Linked DNA regions of Homo sapiens: all the other regions are linked to region 3. The links are contacts of gene promoters, found by promoter capture Hi-C in human tissues and cell types (Jung and others, 2019). All regions are on one chromosome and are shown on one strand. The core of a region is centred on a gene start or on the middle of the fragment in contact, and the rest is flanking DNA. Distances in the headings are between cores, read along the strand shown.

What was found. Contacts are between HindIII fragments. The study calls those that stand out against the background at their distance.
Region 1: a contact is called between a fragment that was not itself captured here and the fragment with the promoter of GINS1 in region 3, in 1 of the 25 tissues and cell types used here (lymphoblastoid cells).
Region 2: a fragment that was not itself captured here is called in contact with the fragment with the promoter of GINS1 in region 3 in 2 of the 25 tissues and cell types used here (dorsolateral prefrontal cortex and spleen).
Region 4: a fragment that was not itself captured here is called in contact with the fragment with the promoter of GINS1 in region 3 in 1 of the 25 tissues and cell types used here (IMR-90 fibroblasts).

Annotation. Positions count from the first base shown.
Region 1 is chr20:24,963,795-24,966,513 of GRCh38, forward strand. It overlaps APMAP (adipocyte plasma membrane associated protein), which reads right to left. Exons shown (of 9, transcript NM_020531.3): 9 at 1-228. The coding sequence ends at 19. Among named protein-coding and RNA genes, the nearest start is that of CST7, 16 kb to the left of the region's middle. The HindIII fragment of the contact is 7,885 bases long and covers 1-2,719 here.
Region 2 is chr20:25,855,956-25,858,742 of GRCh38, forward strand. No RefSeq gene overlaps it. Among named protein-coding and RNA genes, the nearest start is that of FAM182B, 61 kb to the left of the region's middle. The HindIII fragment of the contact is 6,623 bases long and covers 1-2,787 here.
Region 3 is chr20:25,406,174-25,409,209 of GRCh38, forward strand. GINS1 (GINS complex subunit 1) reads left to right here and starts at 1,500. Exons shown (of 7, transcript NM_021067.5): 1 at 1,500-1,722. The coding sequence starts at 1,648. LOC105372581 (a long non-coding RNA gene) reads right to left here and starts at 2,122. Exons shown (of 3, transcript XR_937403.3): 1 at 1,898-2,122. RefSeq lists enhancers at 1,542-1,791, 1,889-2,646. The HindIII fragment of the contact is 13,310 bases long and covers 1-3,036 here.
Region 4 is chr20:25,011,243-25,014,361 of GRCh38, forward strand. It overlaps ACSS1 (acyl-CoA synthetase short chain family member 1), which reads right to left. Exons shown (of 14, transcript NM_032501.4): 9 at 2,719-2,831; 10 at 2,294-2,420; 11 at 1,570-1,697; 12 at 1,359-1,422. Among named protein-coding and RNA genes, the nearest start is that of APMAP, 20 kb to the left of the region's middle. The HindIII fragment of the contact is 3,542 bases long and covers 10-3,119 here.

The sequences.
Region 1 (2,719 bases), core at 179-2,678, 440 kb before region 3:
GGCAGCTATCTGGGAGGGCTAAACAGCCTGGAGGCTGAGTCTGCAGAGGAAGGGGGACCTGAAAGAGCCCAGGTACAGGTGCCCATCGTGTTCGTGCACCTCGCTGATGTAGGTGGCCACCAGCCCATCGGGATCATGCAGGCTTCTCCGGAAGGCACCGCTGTCGCTGAGTTCTAGGACGAGGCTGTACCGCGGCACAAACTTCATCACCGTCTCTTGACTAAAGAGCTAGAGGGAAGCACAGTGCAGGGAAAGTTCACCAGCTGGCCAAGAACACTGTGCGCAGATCAACCGTGCCGCCCCCACCATCCAGGAACGGTCTGACTCCTTCCCATGACAGGGCAGCCCCACAGGGCAGTGCCCCACAGGACAGCTAATCCAGCTCCCACTCCCAGCCCAGGGGCCCCAAAGCAGGCCCCACCCCACCCCTGTCCCTGTGAAGATCAGGCCAAAGAGGCTCCCCAGCACAAGGACAGCAACGCAAGCACATCTCTGGATGGCCTGGCTGAACTGAGAGAGACATATCACATCCGACGTGGTCACAGCACTGCAGCCAAGGCTCAGAATGACCTCCACTCACCAGATCACAACCAGCGCAGCTTCCCTGGAATACACAAGTCTTCTGTTTAGATTTAAAACATTTCAAATAGGCAAGGTGCAAATGATGGAGATTTGAGAGCAGCTCACATTCAAAAAAAGCAAGCAGGTCCACAGACCACACAACATGGCTTCCAAAACAAAAAGCAAAATCCCACTGCTTTCCTCAAAGCGGGGCGTGCAGATCCTGAGGGACGCCTACAGGGACGGAGGCAAAAGAGCTTAGACCTGGACTCTGTGGTCACACGGGACTGTTGAAGAGTATTAAGCAGAGAACAGATGGCGAGAGGCGTGATTTCTGGCAGAGCAGAAGGACACCTGGTCGGAAATTATGACAAAGCACTCCACTGCCTAAGACCAAGGAATGGAAATTAACAGACAGATTTCTAGCTTTTAATACAAGGGAAAATACCCAAACAAGTGTCCAACGAATAATGTCTCCCAGTCACTGGAAATGTTCAAGCAGACAGACAAGCTGACTAGACTCTAGGTTCAACAGCGATAGATCAACTGCATTACAGCTCAAAAAATTCCCAAGGCTTCCCACTACCTAGGAAATGCCATCTCCTGCTGTTCGGCCGTGGATCCTTCCCACTCTCCTCTCTTCTCTCTTCCCCCTAAGAGATCTCATCCTCTCTCACTATTACAACTAGTCACTTTCCCAGAAAGCTCTCAAATCGCCATCTCCAACACCAGTGCTAAGTTTCTCACTGTCTGGGACCCATGTCTGCCTGGCCTTTCTAATAGCACTTCAAATTCAACAGCCTCCCCAGCTCTGGAGACAGGGCCAGGACCCCAGCCTTCCCTTGATCCCAGTCTCTCTGTGCCCTACAAGCCCAGCTGCCAGTCTTGCCATCTGTTGTGTGTGTCCCTGGCCTGGGCCCTGCCCTGCCGCCTCTCCCCAGTCACTGAGACAGCTTCCACACAGGCTCCCACAGCCAGCTGAGCCCTGCTGCAAGCTGTTCTCCTTGCAGTAGCTGCAGTTCTCTTTAAAAACATTCTTTGTACTACATCACTCCCCTCCTAAACAACTCCATCAGGAGCATGGGGCTGAGCAGGGTACATGTGTGCAGGGGATGGCAGACCATGGTGACCCAGACAAGCCCACTCCGCTTGGGTGAGGAGGTGTCCCTGCAGGGGAGTGGCCTGGCACGGGCTGTCAGGGCCCACACGGGGTGAGGAGGTGTCCCCACAGTGAGGCCCAGATCAGGCTGTGAGAGCCCATGCAAGTGAGGAGGTGTACACCCAGGGACAGCCCGGTGCAGGGATCACAGCCCTTGAGGCGAAAGGCAGCCTCCAGCACATGGTCAGGGAGGAAGGGGACAGCCCAGCATGGGGTGCTACAGCCCTGGATGGGGCCATGTGACAGGGCACAGCAACCACAGATTGGTCACATGCACAGAAAATGGTTGAACAGGTAAACCTAGGGAGGACAATGGGATCCAGGTTTCTCACTGTTGGAGAGGTACAAATAGGGGGAAAAATAAGGGGAGAAAACTTGGATCAGTCCTGTGGTGTTGTCATGGTTTTCAATTTACAGATGACAGATGCAGGCATAAGCGTGAGTGGTGTGTGTGTGTGATGTCTACGCGTGCAGGTATATGTGAGTATGCATCGTGTGCTTGTACTCCCAGCGTTGTCCCTTAGGGACCTGGGAGCAGCGACACCCAAAGCAGCGAGTACACTCAGCACCCAGATCTCCTCCACAAGGAACCAGGGCTCCTGGGAGAAATGGCCGATTGCAGAGCTGAAGCAGGGACAATACAAGAGGAAACTGGAACGACTTATGTGCTGGAAAGTGAGGAGCTAGCCCAAGACAAGAGGACATGCCCAAAGGCCCAGAAGCCACACTGAAGGGGCTCCTCCTGGCCACAGATGGGTAATTTGAGCATCAAAATCAATGATGACTGTAACATAATCACCATTAAGAACATGGGAAACCATAAGATGGCACTGGTGATTACTTACAAAAACCACCTCTCTGCGAGCAACTCAGTAATTAGACATGAAAGAACCACGTCCAGGTGGAGACACCTGGCATTCCCTGCCTGAATCAGGTGGCCAAAGTTGCCACCACCCCAACAGAGCAAACTGGTATCGCGCCCTCATGACAGCCGCGCCA
Region 2 (2,787 bases), core at 201-2,700, 450 kb after region 3:
CGACTGGATCCAGGGTAAAGTTTGCAGCGGCCTGGTAGAGGCTGTGGCCGGTGTCCTGTCCCAGGGCGAAACCCCCAGAAGTCCTGTCCTCAGGACCTCCTTGAGCCGACTCCCACCAAGGGAGGGAGAGCTACAGGATGTCTGCTGGGTTCTCGGGACTCCCCTTCAGATCCGATTTTGGCCCCCTCCGAGTGAGATAGGATGGGCTCACCACATCTGTTGAGGCAGGCAGGGCATCGCTGCAGCATAGAATGATCCCATGGGTTTCAAGGCGTGGTGTCAGCTGAAAATTCACTGATCCATCAGCCCTCTGCCTCCCTTCTCCTTTGAAAGAGCACTGGCCTGCCCGGCTTCTAAAAGCCATGGGGCTCCGGAAGCCAACCGCAATTTACAGGACACGTGCAAAAAGGAACAAGGGCGAATCCCAGGTGGAGACCATGCGATGACGTGTGGCTGTGGCCCATCCCACAGCAGATGGCGTGGATGTGTGTAACCAGAGGAATGTGGGGCGACGGCGAAACAAACGGTGGTGTCTAAGCATGTGCCCGGTGGAAGGGGGGGACAAGTGACATTTCCATCACAGCAATGAAAACTTAAAGAACACCTGGGAACCAGGAGGGGGCTTGTGACTGACCGGATACAAAATTTGAAATTGCTGCCAGAGGAGCAAAGAGGGTTCTGCAAATTTCACCCCAACGCCAAAGCTCCATCGCCCATGTAGCCCTCACACAACGTCCTGTGCACCAAGCCCCAGCCCCAACACCAGCCCCAGCCCCAGCCCCAGCCCAAGACCGAGCCCAGTCCCCTTGTTTCCCTGACATTCGTTAAGGCCAAAAGATCCAGGGAGACAGTCCACCCATGAGAAGAGGAGAGGATGTCCCTCGAGAATGAGACAGGAAGTGCAGAGGAAATGCGACACCACCTGTGCTAGAAGACAAGGCCAGTCCCGGTCTCCTAGCGCTCATTCTAGGCAATCCACCCACCCATGAATGGAAACATGGAGAAGAAGCAAGCTTTCCTGTCTGAGACACTTATGGGAGCAAAGAGCTCCACGGTCACGAGATCTGCCCAATCAAGCAGAAAGAGGTTTGGAGAGAGAAACAATCATAACAGGGATCTCCAGGAAATGTCTCCCGGACAGACTGGGAAGTCAAGCACTGGGAAGTCCCTAACGGACAGGGAAGACATGTGGCCAGAGCGAGAGGCATCTAGGACAGGGGAGGCAGAGCAAGAGGGAGGACAGAGCAGAAGGAGCAAGAGGGAGAACAGAGCAGAGGGAGGACAGAGCAAGAGGGAGGAGAGAGCAGAGGCCGGAGCCCAGGCCGGATATAGCACCATGCCACCGCCACAGGCATAAGGGGAGGGGTTCCAAAAGGGTGGCTTGTCCAGCGAGGTCACCGTTCCAGTGACAGGGATTGTTGCCATCTCTCATTCCCGGCTTCCTCTTGCAGACTGTATCATGGTGTGGCTTCATTTCTCAGAGAAGAGCCGTGAAAAGATACAAGCATCTTCTCTGACGTGGGTCCGCTGCTCTCCTGCGGGACAAAGAGCTCCTGTGGGGCTCTTGTCCTCGGCTGCAGTGTGATCATTTTGATCTTAGGAGAGAGGCCGCTCAGGATGGGGATGAGATTTCAATTGCTCCCGGACCCATGCATCTCTTCACGTAGGCCAGGACTTCACACACCCAAAGCGGATCCGGGGCGGCGAAAACGATTGACAACCGGCCTCATGACAAAGGCAGAGACGCAGAAAGAGGGTCACCAAAGACAGGCCGCCATGCGAGAAACCGCTTTGTGGCGCACAGGGCACATTCTGCCAAAGACACACACGCACACGGGCACACACACACAACCCACTGAGAGAGGGAAAGAAACACACAGAGACTGAGAGACAGAGAGAGAAGAGAGAATGGGAGAAACACACACAGACACACACACACACACACACACACACACACACACACACACACACAATGTCATTCAGGAGAGGCATTGAAACGCACACACCCAGGCAAACCCTGAGTCTGCGGGGATCGGCTCTCGACGAGAACGACCCTCCTGTGAGAGAGCACCCCAGGGGCAGGCAGGCCGACCTGTCGTCGAGATCACGGACGGCGGCACGACTTTTGGGGAGACTCACCCCAACCCACACCGTCATGGCAGGCCTGAAGCTGGGATGCCGTGCTGCTATCCCCGGACTCCCCCTGGGGTTTCCTCATCCTGGTCGGCCCTTTGAGACTCCTGGCATCCGGAGACGTTCCCGTCGACCCGGTGGAGAGGTCAGGCCAGAGCCTCAGAGCCCCGACACACAAGCACTGCCACGGAGGGCTCCTGCTTTGCCAAGCCTCAGGGAGTGGTTTCTAAGAAAACCGTGGGAACCACTGTGAGGGCAAAAGAAGCTCGCGCCTCGCGCATGCGCATTGTCAGGGCCAACTCGCGCTACGCTCCTCACAGGCAGGCTGCGTCCCCTTTAAATAACGCCGCCGCTGCGCTGGGGCAGCGAGGCTCCTGCTGCATCCGCCGCGGTGGCTGGATCCGGGGTCCAGTTGGGGCGGCGTGAGAGAGAGGGCCGCGGGTGTCTTGTCGTGTCCCAGGGCCAAACCCCGAGGAATCCTGTCCTCAGGACCACCTTGAGCTGACTTCCACCGAGGGAGGGGGACATCAGGACGCCTGCTGTGTTCTCAGGACTCCCCTTCAGATCCGATTTTGGCCCACTCCGAGTGAGATAGGATGGGCTCACCACATCTGGTGAGGCAGGCAGCGCCTCGCTGCAGCACAGAATGATCCC
Region 3 (3,036 bases), core at 250-2,749:
AAAAGGCAATGTTTGCTGGGTGCGGTGGCTCACGCTGTAATTCCAGCACTTTGGGAGGCCCAGGCGGACGGATCCCTTGAGCTCAAGAGTTGTCGACCAGACTGGCCAACATGGTGAAACCCTGTCTCTACTTAAAATACAAAATAGCCAGGTGTGGTGGCCTGAGCCTGTAGTCCCAGCTACTCAGAGGGCTGAGGGGGGAAAATTACCTCAGCCCGGGAAGTGGAGGCTGCAGTGAGCTGAGATGGCGCCACTGCACTCCACCTGGGTAACGGGAGTTAAGACCCTGTCTCCAAAAAAAAAAGGCAATGTCATTATTCAACATAAGCCTGAGTAGGCCATTCCCATGCCCATTCCTTAGATGACATATCTACTGTATATTTGCAAAAGATCAACATAGTTTCTAGGGTTAGCTAGAATTAATCCAAGATTGCGCCGGTTGCGGTGGCTCATGCCTGTAATCCCAGCACTTTGGGAGGCCGAGGTGGGCGGATCACGAGGTCAGGAAATTGAGACCGTCCTGGCTAACACGGTGAAACCCCGTCTATACTTAAAAAATTCAAAAAATTAGCTGGGCGTGGTGGCGGGCGCCTGTAGTCCCAGCTACTCGGGAGGCTGAGGCAGGAGAATGGCGTGAACCCGGGAGGCGGAGCTTACAGTGAGCCGAGTTCGCGCCACTGCACTCCAGCCTGGGCGACAGAGCGAGACTCCATCTCAAAAAAAAAAAAATCCAAGATTGCTTGTTAGAAATTAACATTGCTTTTTGAAAAATTGCCTAATAAAACAATTCTTTAGCAGTGATTCCCATCTTCCATATGCTTAAGAAATATTCCATAACCATCTAGCCAAGAAAATTCCTAGTGAATTCGTATTAATCTAGGGCAGATATTACAAATATTTTTAAAAGACTATTTTAAAATCAAAGGGTGGTACTGTGGTGTTGGAAATGGAAAGCCTAAATAACAGTCTAATCACTCTGGAGCTGTGTGACCTTGGGCAAGTTACCTAACTTCTGTTTCCTTATTAATCCCGGGTCTTAAAACACTTCAGAGATAATTGTGGGAATGAAATACACACTGCAGTCCCTACCAGCACTAGGTACCCAATAAAAGAGAGTTTCATTTTAATATCAAACAGAAAACCCGCACTGCAAAACTGAAACCCTTGCGTCCTACCAATGCACACCAAGTTTTTGGGCCTTTCCTCTTAACCTCAAAGTGCTCTTTTCTTGAACCTAAACGAGAATGAATGAATCAAAAGGAAAATGACAAGGAAGCTGCGGGGCGTGCATTTATTTCCAGCTCTGCTGCCCGTAGAGTCCCCCGGCCCACTGCCTGAGAACTGGAAAAGCCGTCTCTGCTCAGCCGAGGGGTTCTGCCATCTCCGGGGCGGGGACCTCACCTTGGAAAGACCCCTCCCACTCCGCCCCTCTTGGAATGCGGCTGAGCGGTGGATGTCCCTTTTCGGGCGCCGTAGGCGCGTTCCTATTGGCTAGCTTTGTTCGGCGCCAAAGCGCGGAGCGGAGGCCGAGGCGAGAGCCTGGCGCTGTAGGACTAGAACGAAAGGAGTGAGGCGCCGAGAGCCCAGATACCATTTTGGCGTGAGAGCTGGTGGTTGGCAAGGCCGCGGGAGTGGGAAGCGTCCGCCATGTTCTGCGAAAAAGCCATGGAACTGATCCGCGAGCTGCATCGCGCGCCCGAAGGGCAACTGCCTGCCTTCAACGTGAGGGGCGGGTAGACTTGGACGGGGCATGCCGGCGTTGGGCCCTGGGCTCTGGGGCGGGGCGGCTCCCCGTCAGGGTTCACTTTCGCACCTTGTTCCCTCCGAGCTCCGGAAAACTTGGGAAGCAGCAAAACAAAATTCAGGAGGAAAGAGAAAGCATTCATGCTTACGCTACCCAGCGATTTGGTGAATTTCCTCATCTGAGCAAATTTTGCATTTTAGCAGTTTTCCTTGGACAGATTTGTTCCGGTCCCTTAAAATATTTACAGGTTGCCTGATAATTTAGCATTTCTTGCTCACTCAGGCATCTAATCGTGGTCAGTAAAAGCTAGGCCTCTGGAACCTGGCTGAGATTCTGGTTCTGTAGTGTGACTTTGGGGCAGTTACTCAAGCTTTCTGTGCTCTCAGTTTTCTCATACGCAAAAATGGGGATGGTGACAATAATAGTACCCAACGCATGATGTAGTGGACGCAAAATGAGTGGCATGTGTAAGGGTCTCTGCATATGCCTCACATACAGTAAGGGCTGAGTCAGTGTTAGCTATTAATATTACTTTTCTCCTGCTGCTGCTGTTACTATTAATATTATGATTATTTGTATTTTTCTATCACTGCTACCCCAGGGAGAGTGCTAAGCACTTCATGTACATTATCTTTTGTCTTTCTAATAACCCTTTGAGGGCCCGGTACCATGGCTCCTGCCTGTAATCCCAGCACTTTGGGAGGCTGAGGCGGGAGGATCGCTTGATCCTGCCACTGCATTCCAGCCTGAGTGACAGGGAGACCCTGTCCCAAACAAAACAAAAATAACTTTTTGATGTTTAAACTATTGTTTTCTACTTTTTTCAGCTATATATGCATAGGATTGGGGAGATTTAAGTATATTGCCTAAGGTGACACAGCAAGAAAGCTAGGATTTGAACCCTGGCACTCTGGCTCCAGAGCCTGCACTCTAAATTGTATATTTCACTTACGTCATAGAGCAGGCATTATGTGGATGTCAGGACACATTCTGCTGGAAGATGGGCACAAAAACAGATAATAGAATTCACCACGCTAAGTGATACTAAGGAGGTATAGCAAGGAGCACGAAGGAGAAACACCAGTATGAGCTGGGGTAGAAGAGGTGATATATGAGCCTTTCCATCCTCAAGGATGAGGTTACTGATCTGAGAAGGAAGCGAGGCATCCCAGCCAAAGGATGCTGCAGCACAAAGTCACGTGGTCACACTGGAGAGGGTGACCAATAGGGCCTGTGGGGAGTCTAGGAAGGTGGCTCACAGCCTACATGAATTTGTTGTTCACTTATAAGGC
Region 4 (3,119 bases), core at 531-3,030, 390 kb before region 3:
ATGCCCAAACGTTTGTCTAAAGGTCACTTCCATTGTCCTTTCCTTGATCTTGCACTTGCTTTATGGAGTTCAATCCAGGGGCTGCTGAATCCCCAGACACAGTGGACCATGCCCGGACCCCTCTCAGTGGCCCCAGGGAGTACTGGCTCAGCCACTGGACTCAGACATAGATGGGGCTTTCAAATCCCAGGACACGTCAGTGCCCTGTGGACCCCCAGCCCAGAGATGTGAAATGCAGGAGTCCTCAGAGGAGGGGCCCAGGCTCCTGCCAGAGCGAGGTAACCTCAGGGGGGCACTAAGTTACCCTAGTCACACCTGAGAAACTGTCCTCGTCTCCGTCCTCTCTGACCCTCCTGATCACATCTGGACATGTCACCGGGCAGGGGTCCCTACCAGCTCTCTCCCACATCCCAGCCTTACCAGCATAGCCTTTCCATGGCAACTGAAAATGCTGTTTGTAAAGCACTGAAACAAATTCTCAATCTTGCAATGCGTCAATTTAAAGAGAGCATTTAAGTAAATAATGGAATAACGGCACATAGAAGTGCAGGGAGGAAGGTGACATCTGGGACACACTGTGACACAGGGTGGCCTCCCAGCGGGAGGGCAAGCCTGACCCCAAGCCACTGGGCAGGGCAGGAGAAGCCAGTCTGCCCAGCAGTGCCCTGGCATGGGGTCAGTGTGTGTCCAGGTCACGCCAGGCCAGGCAGTGTGCCTGGATGGACCTGGCATTGCAACACCTAGGTGCTCCCGCCCCTTCCCAGACCCAGCCACCAAGAAGCTGGCAGACTCGAAACAAAGCGTGGCCTTGGTAAAGGCCATTCTAGTCCCTCATTCTGCATTCCCCCAGCATGTCGCTGTGCAGTGGGAACCACAGGTCAGATTCGTCCAAAGAGTCCCAGCGCAGCACACAGCCTGCACACTCCAGAGCACACTCTGGCACACACGCGTGGCGGCTGCAGAGCTGGCTTGAGTGCTATGACCAAGCCCGTGAGGATACATGAGGCTGGACATTTTCTCATAAACTCTCTGTAATGGGGCTGGACGGTGTCCCCACCAGATACACCATGGACAGAAGGGGAAACCCCCCAAGCTTAGCCAAGCCCAACTGGGTCATGGCCACTGTGGATGTGTGTCCTGAAAGGACAGCAGAACCAGGGCATTTCAGAAACCCGACCGAACACGAGTGCTATTCAGCCTCCTCCCCTACAGTTTCCACTTGAGAGAGAAGAACACTGAGAGCTTGGCCCACAGTATCCCCTATCACTCCACTCTCCAGAGTCTGCTCCTCGTACAGAGGTGCCCATAATGGGTGTGGGGTCAGGAATCAGGGAGGAGCTCATCTCCAGGACACTCACCTTCTCCTTTGATGTCGTGGGGGTAGCCAATGACAGCACTTTCTGGTACTGCAGGGTGGTCGGCCTGTGTACAACAGAGAACAAAAGGGCAAAATGTGGCGGCCCCGGGTGCTAGAAGTGACTCGGGCCAGGGACTCCCACCCCAACTTGCAGGTCCACAGGGGCATCATGGAGGTGTAGGAGTGAAGGAGGAGGCCCAGCCTGTGCTCACGATGGCGTCCTCAATCTCTGCGGTCCCCAGCCGGTGGCCACTGATGTTGATGACATCATCCATCCGCCCTGTGATCTGGTAATAGCCGCCCTCAGTTCGGTAAGCCCCGTCTCCAGTGAAGTAATAGCCTGCACCACAGCAGGGAAATTCAGCACCAGGAACCCTGAGCCAGGACCCATGTCCCAACCTCAGTAAGCGTGAAGCTCTGCAGCCCAGCACGCGGCTGAAGTCTCGCCCATCGGCCCTCCTTGCAACTCCGATGCTTCCCTATGTTCTAGAGCATGGGCAGGTGGCTCCGAGATATCGAGACTTTGGGGAGCAGAAGGTATACAAGCAGCACATCCAAGATGCTTCTCCAAAACACTGAGTCTTGTTTACGACAAAAAGGGAAACTGGGAAAAAATAAAAGTAAACTGGAAGAAAACTCCCAGCCGTAGCTAACAGGATCCTACCATGGGCCTGGCTGCAGTGCAGGACTTCACACCCACACCTAAGTAGCCCCAAGAAAGTCCCCGAGTGGGGAATCACTCCCACTGTCAAGATAAGGAAAGCCAGGGAGGTACAGCAAAGGGAGAGGGGTGCGGAGTCAAACTCTGGCCTCGCGAGCACCTATTCCTGGCCACAGTGTTACGCTGCACTCAAATCCCATTAAAAATGTTTTCTGAGAATAAGATTCCAGCAGTCAGCTGAAAAGGAATGAGAGGGTCCCTGACAGCCTGCTCACCTGGGTAGGCCTTGAAGTAGGCGTCCACAAATCGCTGGTGGTCGCCATAGATGGTCCTGGCCATGCCCGGCCAGGCCTGGGAGATGCACAGGGCCCCGGAGACGTTGCTGCCCTCCACGACGCTGCCCTGTAGACCCCGGACATGCAAGTGAGACAGGGCAGGCTCTGGGTGAGAAGTGTGCCAAAAAATGACAAGCCCTGCCCTCAAGGGAGCTGTCCATAGCTCTCCCCTCTGCCCCTGAGGAGGGCCCCAAGCCACCTGTGTGGCCACTACCCAGTGCATGATACCAGCTGCAGTGAACGCTGCAAGGTCAGCAGCCTCCTGCCAGGTACAGACCTGGGCACACAGGAGAGAGCTGGGCTGGGCAGGCAGGGACAAGGGAGGGCAAGCACATGACCCCCATGTGGGGGAGGCCCATACACACCTTCTCATCCATGAGGACGGGGACGATGCCAAAGAAGGGCCTCATCGCCATGGCAGGGAGGATTTCCGCCCCTTCTTCCGAGGGCCGTGGTGCGATGCAGATGCCACCTGTTTCTGCAGGTATGACAAGAAAGAAATGCATAATCGGCCCCGGACCCAGGGATACGTGTATCCAGAGTGGGTGGTAGGTGGGACTGTCCCTGTTGTGGGCAAGGAAACGCCTCAGGGGCACAACGATCTTTGAGGCAAACCAGATGTGGGTCTGGTGCCCTCCACTGTGGATATGAGAGGCGGCCCCACAGTGGCCTCAGCCCCAGGAGCTCTGGCATCCCACAGCCAGGTGCAGGCCCCCTCGCCATGTCAGGCCCTTGCTTGAAGTGGGAAAGGGCAGAGCCCACCCAC